Regions from separate parts of the Homo sapiens genome. Here region 2 is linked to region 1. Evidence: promoter capture Hi-C in human tissues and cell types (Jung and others, 2019). All regions are on one chromosome and are shown on one strand. Each heading gives the region's core, a stretch centred on a gene start or on the middle of the fragment in contact. The rest is flanking DNA. Distances are from core to core; before and after follow the strand shown.

The links. The method cuts DNA at HindIII sites, captures the fragments that hold promoters and counts their contacts. A contact is called where the count stands out against the background at its distance.
Region 2: a contact is called between a fragment that was not itself captured here and the fragment with the promoter of FDX1 in region 1, in 1 of the 25 tissues and cell types used here (lymphoblastoid cells).

The regions. Positions count from the first base shown.
Region 1 is chr11:110,427,676-110,432,750 of GRCh38, reverse strand. FDX1 (ferredoxin 1) reads right to left here and starts at 2,803. Exons shown (of 4, transcript NM_004109.5): 1 at 2,446-2,803. The coding sequence starts at 2,630. RefSeq lists an enhancer at 1,990-2,269 and a silencer at 2,340-2,989. The HindIII fragment of the contact is 14,779 bases long and covers 1-5,075 here.
Region 2 is chr11:111,172,989-111,178,063 of GRCh38, reverse strand. No RefSeq gene overlaps it. Among named protein-coding and RNA genes, the nearest start is that of POU2AF2, 70 kb to the left of the region's middle. RefSeq lists an enhancer at 92-161. The HindIII fragment of the contact is 4,277 bases long and covers 428-4,704 here.

The DNA of each region.
Region 1 (5,075 bases), core at 1,554-4,053:
ACGCCTGTAATCCCAATACTTTGGGAGGCTGAAGCAGGCAGATTACTTGAGGCCAGGGGTTCCAGACCAGGCTGGTCAACATAGTGAAATCTCATCTCTACTAAAACTACAAAACTTAGCCGAGTGTGGTGGCACGCGCCTGTAATCCCAGATATTCGGGTGGCTGAGGCACGAGAATCGCTTGAACCTGGGAGGTGTAGGCTGCAGTGAGCCATGATGGCACCACTGCACTCAGGTGAAGAGTACACCAACACCTCCAAAATCACCACTAAAGAACTAACCCATTAACCAAACACCACCTGTGCCCCCAAAACTACTGAAATTTTAAAAATAAATAGAAATTTAAAATTTTTTTAAAATCCGCAAAAACTTCTTGAGTTCTAGTCCTAGTTTTGCCAGCTACTTAATATGAAATTTTTATTCCCATTTATCTACCCTCCCTACCTCATAGAATTGTCTTAAGAGTCATACGAAACAATACACGTGAAAGATCTTTGCTACCTGAATCACTGCAAACCCCCTTGTGTCACGGTATTTTAGAGTAAAAGGAGTTTTTCTGACTCTCAATTACTGATAGCTTATCGAGTTGTTAAACTTCAAAGACAGAACTACAGTTTCTAGAACTGCTCTGTCTGTCTATAAGAACTTTGTGCCATAACAAAGATGTTCTACACATACTTGCAATGTCCAATACAGTAGCCACTAGCCACATGTGGCTACTGAGAACTCGAAATGTGGCTAGTGTAACTACGAGATTGAATCTTTAATTTTATTTACCTTTAATTATGTTAAACTTCAATAGCCACATGTGATTAGTAGTTACGGTAGTTACAGCACAAGTCTCATTAACACAGTAAGAACTGGAAAATCCAGTTGTAGCTCCAAAGTCTGTAAGAGGAATGATAAGACCATGAATAGAAATTGTGCCAATAAAGAGGGCAGCAGGATTATGAGGAAATAGACGTGCTCCCCTTTAAAACAACCTGACATATCCAAATCCAAAAAACAAATCTGAGAAAGATAACTCCCAATTACTACAAAAACATTCATGTTCCCTTATACCAGTTACACAAGCATGTTCAATATCTGTCCCAATTGATTCAGTTGTCCAAAACTCATCCATTGTATAACAGAAAGCAAGGTACCCACACTGGTCAAAGACAGGGGGGGAAGTGCAGAGGAAACAGGAACAAATAAATCTGGCTTGCCTTCTCCCTGATTTCCCCCAAAGTTCACACAACAAAAATGTATGGAGCACCCACTAGATAACGGGATTAGTGGGGAAAAGATGACTGAAAGTCTTAGACCCTGCTCTCAGAGACCTCAAAAAGAAACTAGACAAAGCAGCGTACAAATCCAACACACTCTCCCTCTAGTTCTCGATTCCTGCTACCCTACATCATGCGGTCAAAGAGCTGTCGAGAGATCTGCATTATATAAATCGCCACCATGTTGGTAAAAATTATGTGTAAATTGTATCTCTAGTATATCTAAGGAGTGTCTTTGAAAAACAAATATGCCCAAGAACCTAAAACTTCAACACATTTGGGATAAATTGTCACATTTCTTTCAATATTTAATACAAAACTCTCTTAACATTGTGAACCTAAGAAGCTGCTGCTGCTGCTGCTGCTGCTGCTGCTGCTGCTACCAAGTGGCATCTACTGAGCCCTCATTACGTGCTAGGCACAAGACTACCTGTATCGCTGTATTAACTCATTGATTCTTCAATTAACCATAGGAGGTCTACACTGTTATTATATCCAACTTGCAAATGGAGAAACTGGGTTCCTAAGGACTGACCAAGTTAGGCACGTCAGACAATCAGTGCCAAAGCCAAGTTTCAAGTCCCGGCAGATTACTTCAACGCAGGGGCTTTCAACACTTGAGCAACTAGCAAAGGGCCTACAGGGCAGCAGAGGGTATGGGCTGGGTGTATTCTACCTGGACACCCCCTGACAAAGACCTGGGACCTGGGTGTCCTCTCAAAGCAGGGCAAGGCCCTGAAAAAAACAGCTGGCAGGTGTGTCAGGCCAGGACAGCAGGAGGGAAGCCTGTCGCGAAGGTCACTGCCAGTTTCGGGCAGAGCAAAGGTCAGATCCCAGACAAATCACACGGAGAACAAGCAGCAGCAAAGTCCCGGCTTTCCTCAGGGCACGGGAAGCGCTGGGAAAGGGAGCTGGGCGTCCAGGGTCCCCGATTCCCGCCGGGAGTGGGTGATGCGGAAAGGAACTCTGCGGTGCGACGGAAGGGAGGCAGCGACGCCACCGAGCAGCGAGACGGAGCCGCGAGAGCACCCCAGAAGAGGGGGGCGAGAGGCAGGCCTCCGGGGTGTGGGCCCGGCGCGCAGAAGGCACTGGAACCAGAGACTCGGCCCAGAGAGCCAGGCGCCACCCACCGGGGACCCCGGCCCGCGCCGGCGATCGCGCCCGCACGGCGCCCTACCTGCTCCGGGCCCGCGCCGACACGCTCAGCGACCGGCTCGCCTCCGCGCTCCCGCCCGGCCCCCGGTTCCTCAGCAGGCCGCTGGATCCAGCGCGGGACCCAGCGTGGTGCAGCCACCGGCCGGCCGGGCCGCCGAGGACAGCAGAAGCGGCGCGCAGCAGCCGGGCGCCCCCAGCGGCAGCCATCGCCCGCGGTCGGGAACTGCCGGAAGCGACGCAGGCCGCGCTTTGAGGCCGCGAGAGACTCCAAAGAGGCGGGGGCGGCAGCTGCGGCGCAGACGCCCGAGGGCCGCGGCGAGGGGCGCGGGGCTGGAGTGGCGGAGAGACCCTGCTGGAAGCACCGCGCCGAGGTTCCGCGTGCCTTCCGGGTGACCTATAAAGACATTGGCAAGCAGAGCGCGGCCCCGCCCCGCCTCTCACGCCCACGCCGCCCGGTCCCATGGGGCGGGGCCAGCGCAGGGGGCCTTTACCAACCCTCCAGGTTCCGTTGTAAGCTGGATGCTTTTTTAGCGGCTGAAGTTGCCGTGCAGAAACAAAATATTTTGAAAGATAGCTGGACGTCTAGCGGAAATCGGTTAGCTAGACCACTGTGTTCTGTTCCGCATACCCCCATCCCCTAGCCGTTAAAAAAAAAACTGGGAAATTGTGTCATCTTGGAGTCAAGTTAGAGCAAAGTGAATTCTGCCCACTGTAAAACAAAAACAGTGGGAAATTTTGGAAAATCTCAGAATGCTATTATACAAAGAAATAATTATGACTATAAAATTGTAAATGAAATTAATGAATAGGCTTGGGGCTCCTGCAGAGGACAGGTAGCCATCCTAGACCTTGACTGGCAAGTAAATGCTGGCTGAGTACATGAAACCCACGAGACTGAACCGGAAACTTTGTGATGAGCTGAGATCTCTAAAAGACTTTCACAAAAAACAGAAAAGATGAACTTTAAAATACACCTTATCATGGTTCATATGTTGTGGGAAATGCATGGGCTTTAAGGTCAGAAATAGCAATGTTCAGATCCAAGATCTACTGCTTTAGAGATCTGAGACCTTGGAAAAATTATTCTCATGGAGGATCAGAGTTTCCATAACTCTCAAACACAGATAAGATGTTCCAGCCTTCAGGGCCATTCTGATGTTAATCTAATACGCAATGCACACCGTGCGTCACAAACCAGGAAGGCTACCGCTTCCTGGGCCTTCCTCCATCAGGGTACTCATAAAGAGGCTAAAGGCCAAAGTCAAGGGGATATTGCAGATATGCTAAACACAATCAGATACTTTTTTTTTCTTTTTTTGACATGGGGTCTCTCTATTCTGCCCAGGCTGTAGTGCAGTGGCGAAATCTCGGCTCACTGCAACCTCCGCCTCCCAGGTTCAAGTGATTCTCCTGCCTCAGCCTCCCGAGTAGCTAGGACTACAGGCGTGTGCCACCACACGCCACTAATTTTTGAAGATTCAGAACAAGAAAGTGTAAGCATGAGTAAAGTATCTGCGGACAATGTATGGTGCTTTCTGGAACCCAATGGCAGAGAGAAGGCAGTGGCTCCTAATTGCCTCAAATCGTTGGATGAAGAGAAAGTCTTTCAAGCTGCGAAGGGCACAGCAAACCCTGACAAGTAATCTTGAAGAGGAGGTTGTAAAAGAACAGCTAACTTTTGTTTTTAGTAAGACCAAACTTCCAAGGTCGGATGAATTAGTTGTAGGAAGAGAATTGAAAAGAAAAAAAATCGTAGATGTTCTGTCTTCTCTCAGCCCTCCTGTAGCAAATACAGTTTCAACTCCCTTAAGGCACTTGATAGCTTTCTGCTTTGTAGGGTAGTTATTCGTACACATAGAGTAGTTATTTATATAGTTCATCTTAGTGACTCCGACAGCACCAGCTACAGGGTCTTGAACATATCAAGGGTCTAATAAATATTGGTGAATAAATTGATGTTATGAAATTTCCATTAATAATCATCAGAATTCATTAAGCATGTATATGAAGATTAAAGATAGAAAAAATGTTCTCCAGGTTTTCTAAGGTGGATGAGAAGTAATGCCAAAAATTGCAAATATCAGTAGTCAGCAGAATTCCAGAATGGATTTGTAAACATGATCATGAATACAGATAAAGCAACATGGAATTACTGAGGACGTGCTTTTGCTTATCTGTTTGCTTATGTATTTCTTTGTCTATAAAACTCCCACCCCTCCATCCCTTTTTTTTTCTTTTTTTCCTTAGAGATGGGGTTTTGCCATGTTGCCCAGGCTAGTCTGGAACTCCTGAGCTCAAGCAATCTGCCCACCTCAGCCTTCCAAAGTGCCGGGACTACAGGCATGAGCCACCATGCCCAGCCCATCTTTTACTCCTTTCAAAATCCATTCATTGTTTGAAGACTTTTGTCTTATTCTGTTTATGATGCTATAACAGAATAACACACAGACTGGGTAATGTGTAAAGAACAGGAATTTATTTTCTCACAGTTCTGGATACTGGGTCGCCCAGGTGCCAACTGGTTTAATGTCTGATAGAGAGGCCCAGTCTCTGCTTCCAAGATGGTGTCCTGTTGCTGTGTCCTCACATGCTGCAAGAAGGGCAAACATGCCAATTTCCTCCAACCCTTTTATAAAGGTGTCAATCGAGAAA
Region 2 (5,075 bases), core at 1,317-3,816, 750 kb before region 1:
CGTTGCAGTGAGCTGAGATCTTACCACTGCACCCTAGCCTGGGTGACAGAGTGAGACTCCATCTCAAAAAAAAAAAAAAAAAAAAAAAAAGAGCAGGAGCAGGTTTGTGTGAATAGGGTTATACTAACATTAATACTCAAACACTGAGGCACAGAAAGGTTAAAACAATAGTCTAAAGTGACCGTGTTATGTAGTAGAGTCAGGATTAAAGCCTAGCACTCTGGCCCCAGAGCCTGTTATCTTAAGCATCTTGGACCAGGTGTGCAGGCAAGAATAAAAACAGGAAGAAGGGTTTGGTCCAGAGAAGGAGCCTATGAAGCAGGGAGGACTTGTGACCTGCTGTGGTTTGAATATACCCCCCAGATTTCATGTGTTGGAAACTTAATCCCCAACACAACAATGTTGAGAGATGGGAGCTTTAAGAACTGATTAAGTCATTAGCCCTAATTAGCCCTTATGGATGGATTAATGTTATTATTGAGGAAGTGGGCTTGTTATTGCAAGAGTAGATTTGTTATAAAGGGGAATTCAGCCTTCTCTTGCTGTCTCTTGTTTTTTTGCACTCTCTTCCCCTTTTGCTTTCCACCACAGGATGATGCAGCAGGAAGGCCCTCACCAGATTCAGGCCACTCACTCAACCTTGCACTTCCTAGCCTACAGACCTGTCAGAAATAAATTTCTTTTCTTTATAAATTACCACATATGTAATATTTTGTTACAGCAGCACACAATGGACTAAGACACCACCTCTCACTTATAACTTTCATATATACATACATATGTACATGCCCTTGTGTGTGCATGCACACACATACACCCACAGACACAATCTGAGCTTTTAATGATATTAAACACCTTCTCTCAAGTATTCTGGGCATCCCTTAAGGGTTCTTACTTGTGCCTGTGGGTCCAGGTTACTCTTATTTTGTCCTCTGTCATGCCAATTAGTGCCCCTTCTCTGGTTCCAGCTTTCTGCATGGGCCTCTGTCCCCAGTTATGCCCAGATCCCTCCTGATTCATCCAGGCCACCACTGCCATCAGCCCCTCCATGGAATGGGGAAGGAAAATGCTTTTTCTTCTGTGTTGCACTTAATTGGGGCAGGATGAACTGCAGTGGATCACATGGTCATAAGGCATTGCAGGGTTTGGTGGAACAGCTCTTTCCATTGTTACATAGGCTCCTTTCTCTCCAGGATCACACATGCCGCCCAGACAGCTAGATTTAACAAAGGCTTTAAGCATAGGTCACCACCTGAAACTCTCTCTTTGTGACCTGCCAGGACTTGTTGCTGATTTCCTCTGCTTGGTGAATTTTCTTTTCGGTTCCTTTCTTCACTGTGGTTTCCATTGCATCTTTGACTCCTACTCGATCATGAATATCTGAGATGTCCGAACCATAGTACTGGCTATTGTTCAAGCTTTTATTCCAATGAAGCTCCTAGTTTCCATGTAAACTAGTGATCGCAAATTGATACTTGATGTGTGTGTGTGCCAGCATGTGTGTGTGCATGTGTGTGTATGCATATGTGTGTGTGTGTGAGAATGCTATTACTAGTGCCACAAGATGGACCTGTACATGTCAATTCAGGCTTCAGAAATATATAACTTGCCAGATAGTGTCTTGGAGATGATTAGGACCTCTAGTTTCTTTATAGTTGGTGAGCAAATCTTTCATACACACCACAGTCCTTTACTGTCCCAAGATTCTTTAGGTCCAGCATTCTTAACCTGGATTTGTGGACCCCAAGTGGGTCCATAAGTGAATACTAGGGAGTCTGTGAGAAATTGCCTGCAAAATGTTATATGCACATGAACTTGTTAGGGGAGATGATCTATAACCTTAATTAGAGGCACAAAGCATCTGGATCCCCAAAAGTTTGAGAGCCAGACATTCAGACTGGCCTTGGCATGTGGGAAGCACTGGATGTGACCTAATCCAGAAAGGTGAAGGGAATAAGGAAACCAACACGCACTGAATGGCTGCTATGAGCCAATGTCCTGACCTGGGTTCTTTATGTGTTTTCTCATTTCATTTTCAAAACTGTTCCGTGTAGCAGTTATGACTCCCATATTCCAGAGGAGAAATGGAAGCTGAGAGGGGTTGAAGGAAGGTCCACAAGGCCACACAGCTGCTAAGTCAGGCAAACATGATTTACACATCTAGGCTTTTGGCCTCTAAATAACTGTGCACTTTCTGTGACATCATGCTGACCCCCGAGAAAAACAAGAAATACCAATTTCCATAGATTTCATAAGCACATTGGTAAATACTGCATTCTATTTTTTCTACAGCCCATACTATATACTAATAGCATGTATTAAATTATATTGCTCACAAAACAAAGTTTTGATCAGATATCCATGGTGTTGCTTTTTTAAAAACACACTTTCGCTATTGCTCATCATGCTTTCTGTCATAATGATATGGTTGTTATTAATAAATACAAGACACTATGTACCTGTAACTCCTTACTCTATCTTAAAGACATAAATAGGGCAGTGTAATGGTTATCAGGGATTTCCTCTCTTTGGCTAATAGGTGGGGTGGTGCAGGAGGCTGAGAAAGTCTTACTCTGTTGGGGTAGGAGGCGGAGACAGGACTCGATTCCAGAGACGGGGCTCAGACACCAGACCAAATTGAGGACTAGTTAAAATGGACTGGGAGGAAGCAGCTTTCCATAATACATGCCCACCAGTGTGCCATGTCAGTTTACCATTGCCATGGCAACACTCAGGAATTACCACCTCTTTCCAAGGCAATGACCCAACAACCCAAAAGAAATTTCCCTAGAAATTTCTGCATAAACCACCCCTTAATCTACATGTAATTAAAAGTCGGTATAAATATGACTGCAAAACTGCCCTGAGCTGCTACCCTGAGCACACGGCCTGAGGTGTATCCCTGCTCTGCAGGAGCAGTCATGGAGCTGTAACACCACCGGAGCTGTAACACTGCCACTTCAATAGAGCTGCTTTCTTCCATCTCTTGCTCGCCCCTGAATTCTTTCCTGGGCAAAGCCAAGAGCCCTTGTGGGTTAAGCTCCAGTTTAGTTGTGTAATTACTTTAAATTTTTTAAGATACCAATATTATATGACTTCCGATCTTTTTAAAATTTTCTTCAAACCGAATCTTGCTCTGTCATGTAGTCTGGAGTGCAGTGATGTGATTTCGACTCACTGCAACCTCCGTCTCCCAGGTTCAAGCAATTCTCATGTTTCAGCCTCCCGAGTAGCTGGGGTTACAGGCATGTGCCACCATGCCCAGCTAATTTTTGTCTTTTTAGTAGAGACGGGATTTCACCATGTTGGCCAGGCTGGTCTCAAACTCCTGACATTAGGTGATCACCCACCTTGACCCCCCAAAGTACTGGGATTACAGGGCGTAAGCCACCACGCCTCGCTTGATCTTTTGTTGGAAATGAATAGTGTATAAATTATCTCAGGGAAATTTAAATAATAAGCATACATTCTAATGCAGTCCTCAGTGTAGCTTTGTGCCCACTGTCTGTTTTCTAGAGCCCTCTTCAATACAGTGTAACCTACTCAACAATGTGTTAATAACATCTACTAAAAACACACTGGATTCCTGGGATGTCTTAACCATCTAATATCTACTGTTGAAAATTGTAAGTCTTCCTTTTGGTTCTGTTAGTGCTCCATAGAATTCGTTATGACACGGATCATAAAATAAATCTTCACAGTTCATTAGTAGAGTCTAAAGCAATTCTGAACACATTTTACTTGCTTCACACCTGTTTGCTTAAATGTAAATATAGAAAATACCTTGTATTCCTGCTCTAGAATTTGTAGTGGGAATTCATATTAAACAGTTCATAGAGTTGTGGAATCTGGATTTTTAAAAAAGAATTAAAAACTAATGAATTTGTATTTAGAGTTTAGAAAGTACAGAACTTATTTCAAACTAATATAGTTAGTTGTCTCTGTTTTTAAATGAAATTCCTCTCTGAGGCTGCTTTATTAATGAAACCGATTGCACTCCCTCACTACCAGGCTGGGGGTGGTGGGCTCCACGTGAGTGAGCATACTTGCTTCTTTAGGGAAGCACAGAATTGCTTGAGAAAACAAGTCAGCAGTGGTGAAGACTGGAGCTTGGAAACATGGGGTCTAGGTATTTCTCTTGTCCTCAGCTTGGTTATGTAGAGTAGCTGTTCTCAGTTTCTGTAGCTCAGAAACAGTGTTTCCCAGACTTCCCTGATGGAAAGAACAACCTGAGGGGCTGGCAGACAGACAGTTCCCCAGACCACTGTGCTGGAGATTCACATCCCAAGGGTATGGGTTGAGGCCTGCGGATTTGTATTACTGATGAGGACTCAAGTAATTATTTTCGTCAAGAGGTTTGGGAAGGTATTTCATTGAAACCCTTCCTCTTTCTTCCTTTTTAACCCCCATCCAATTCTTCCAAAATCACAAAATGACCACAAGAATATTACAATCAGTGATACTCTTACTTTCCGAGTGGTTTCCTGAGTTCCTGCCCCCACACCACCATTACTTTTACATGCCATCCTCAGCTTATTCTTCTGGAAACTCAGCTCTGAGCACTACTTTCCTCTTTAACAAACACCAAGACTGCTCTGTGGCCTGTTATATTGTGTCCAGATTCATCAGCCTGGAATTTAAGGCCCTCTGTAAATTGGCCCAACCTGCCTTTTCAAATTCTTTCTTACCAAGTTCCTTTATACAGTGTTGGATTCAGCCAGGTTGTGGCCATTTGATTCCCCCTGTATACATTCTTTAATATCCTGCCTCTTTGCCTTGGCTTATACTTTTCTTTCTGCCTTGAATAGTTTTCTTCTCATCCATCCATATCCGTGTCTCGAATCTGTCTTTCAGGGGCCAGTTCAAAGTTCCCTCCTCTCTGAGGTGTGACCTCATTTGACCAGTCAGAGAATAAGAATCTATTGATGCCTGTTTGTCAGGCATGATGCTGAATCCTTTATATGGATGATCTCATTTGAATCTCAGAATAATCCTTTGAGAGGACTTTCTTTCCTCCGGAACTCATCCCCACTGTACTTCTCCTTCTTCTTAGATTCTATATTTGCGAATTCACC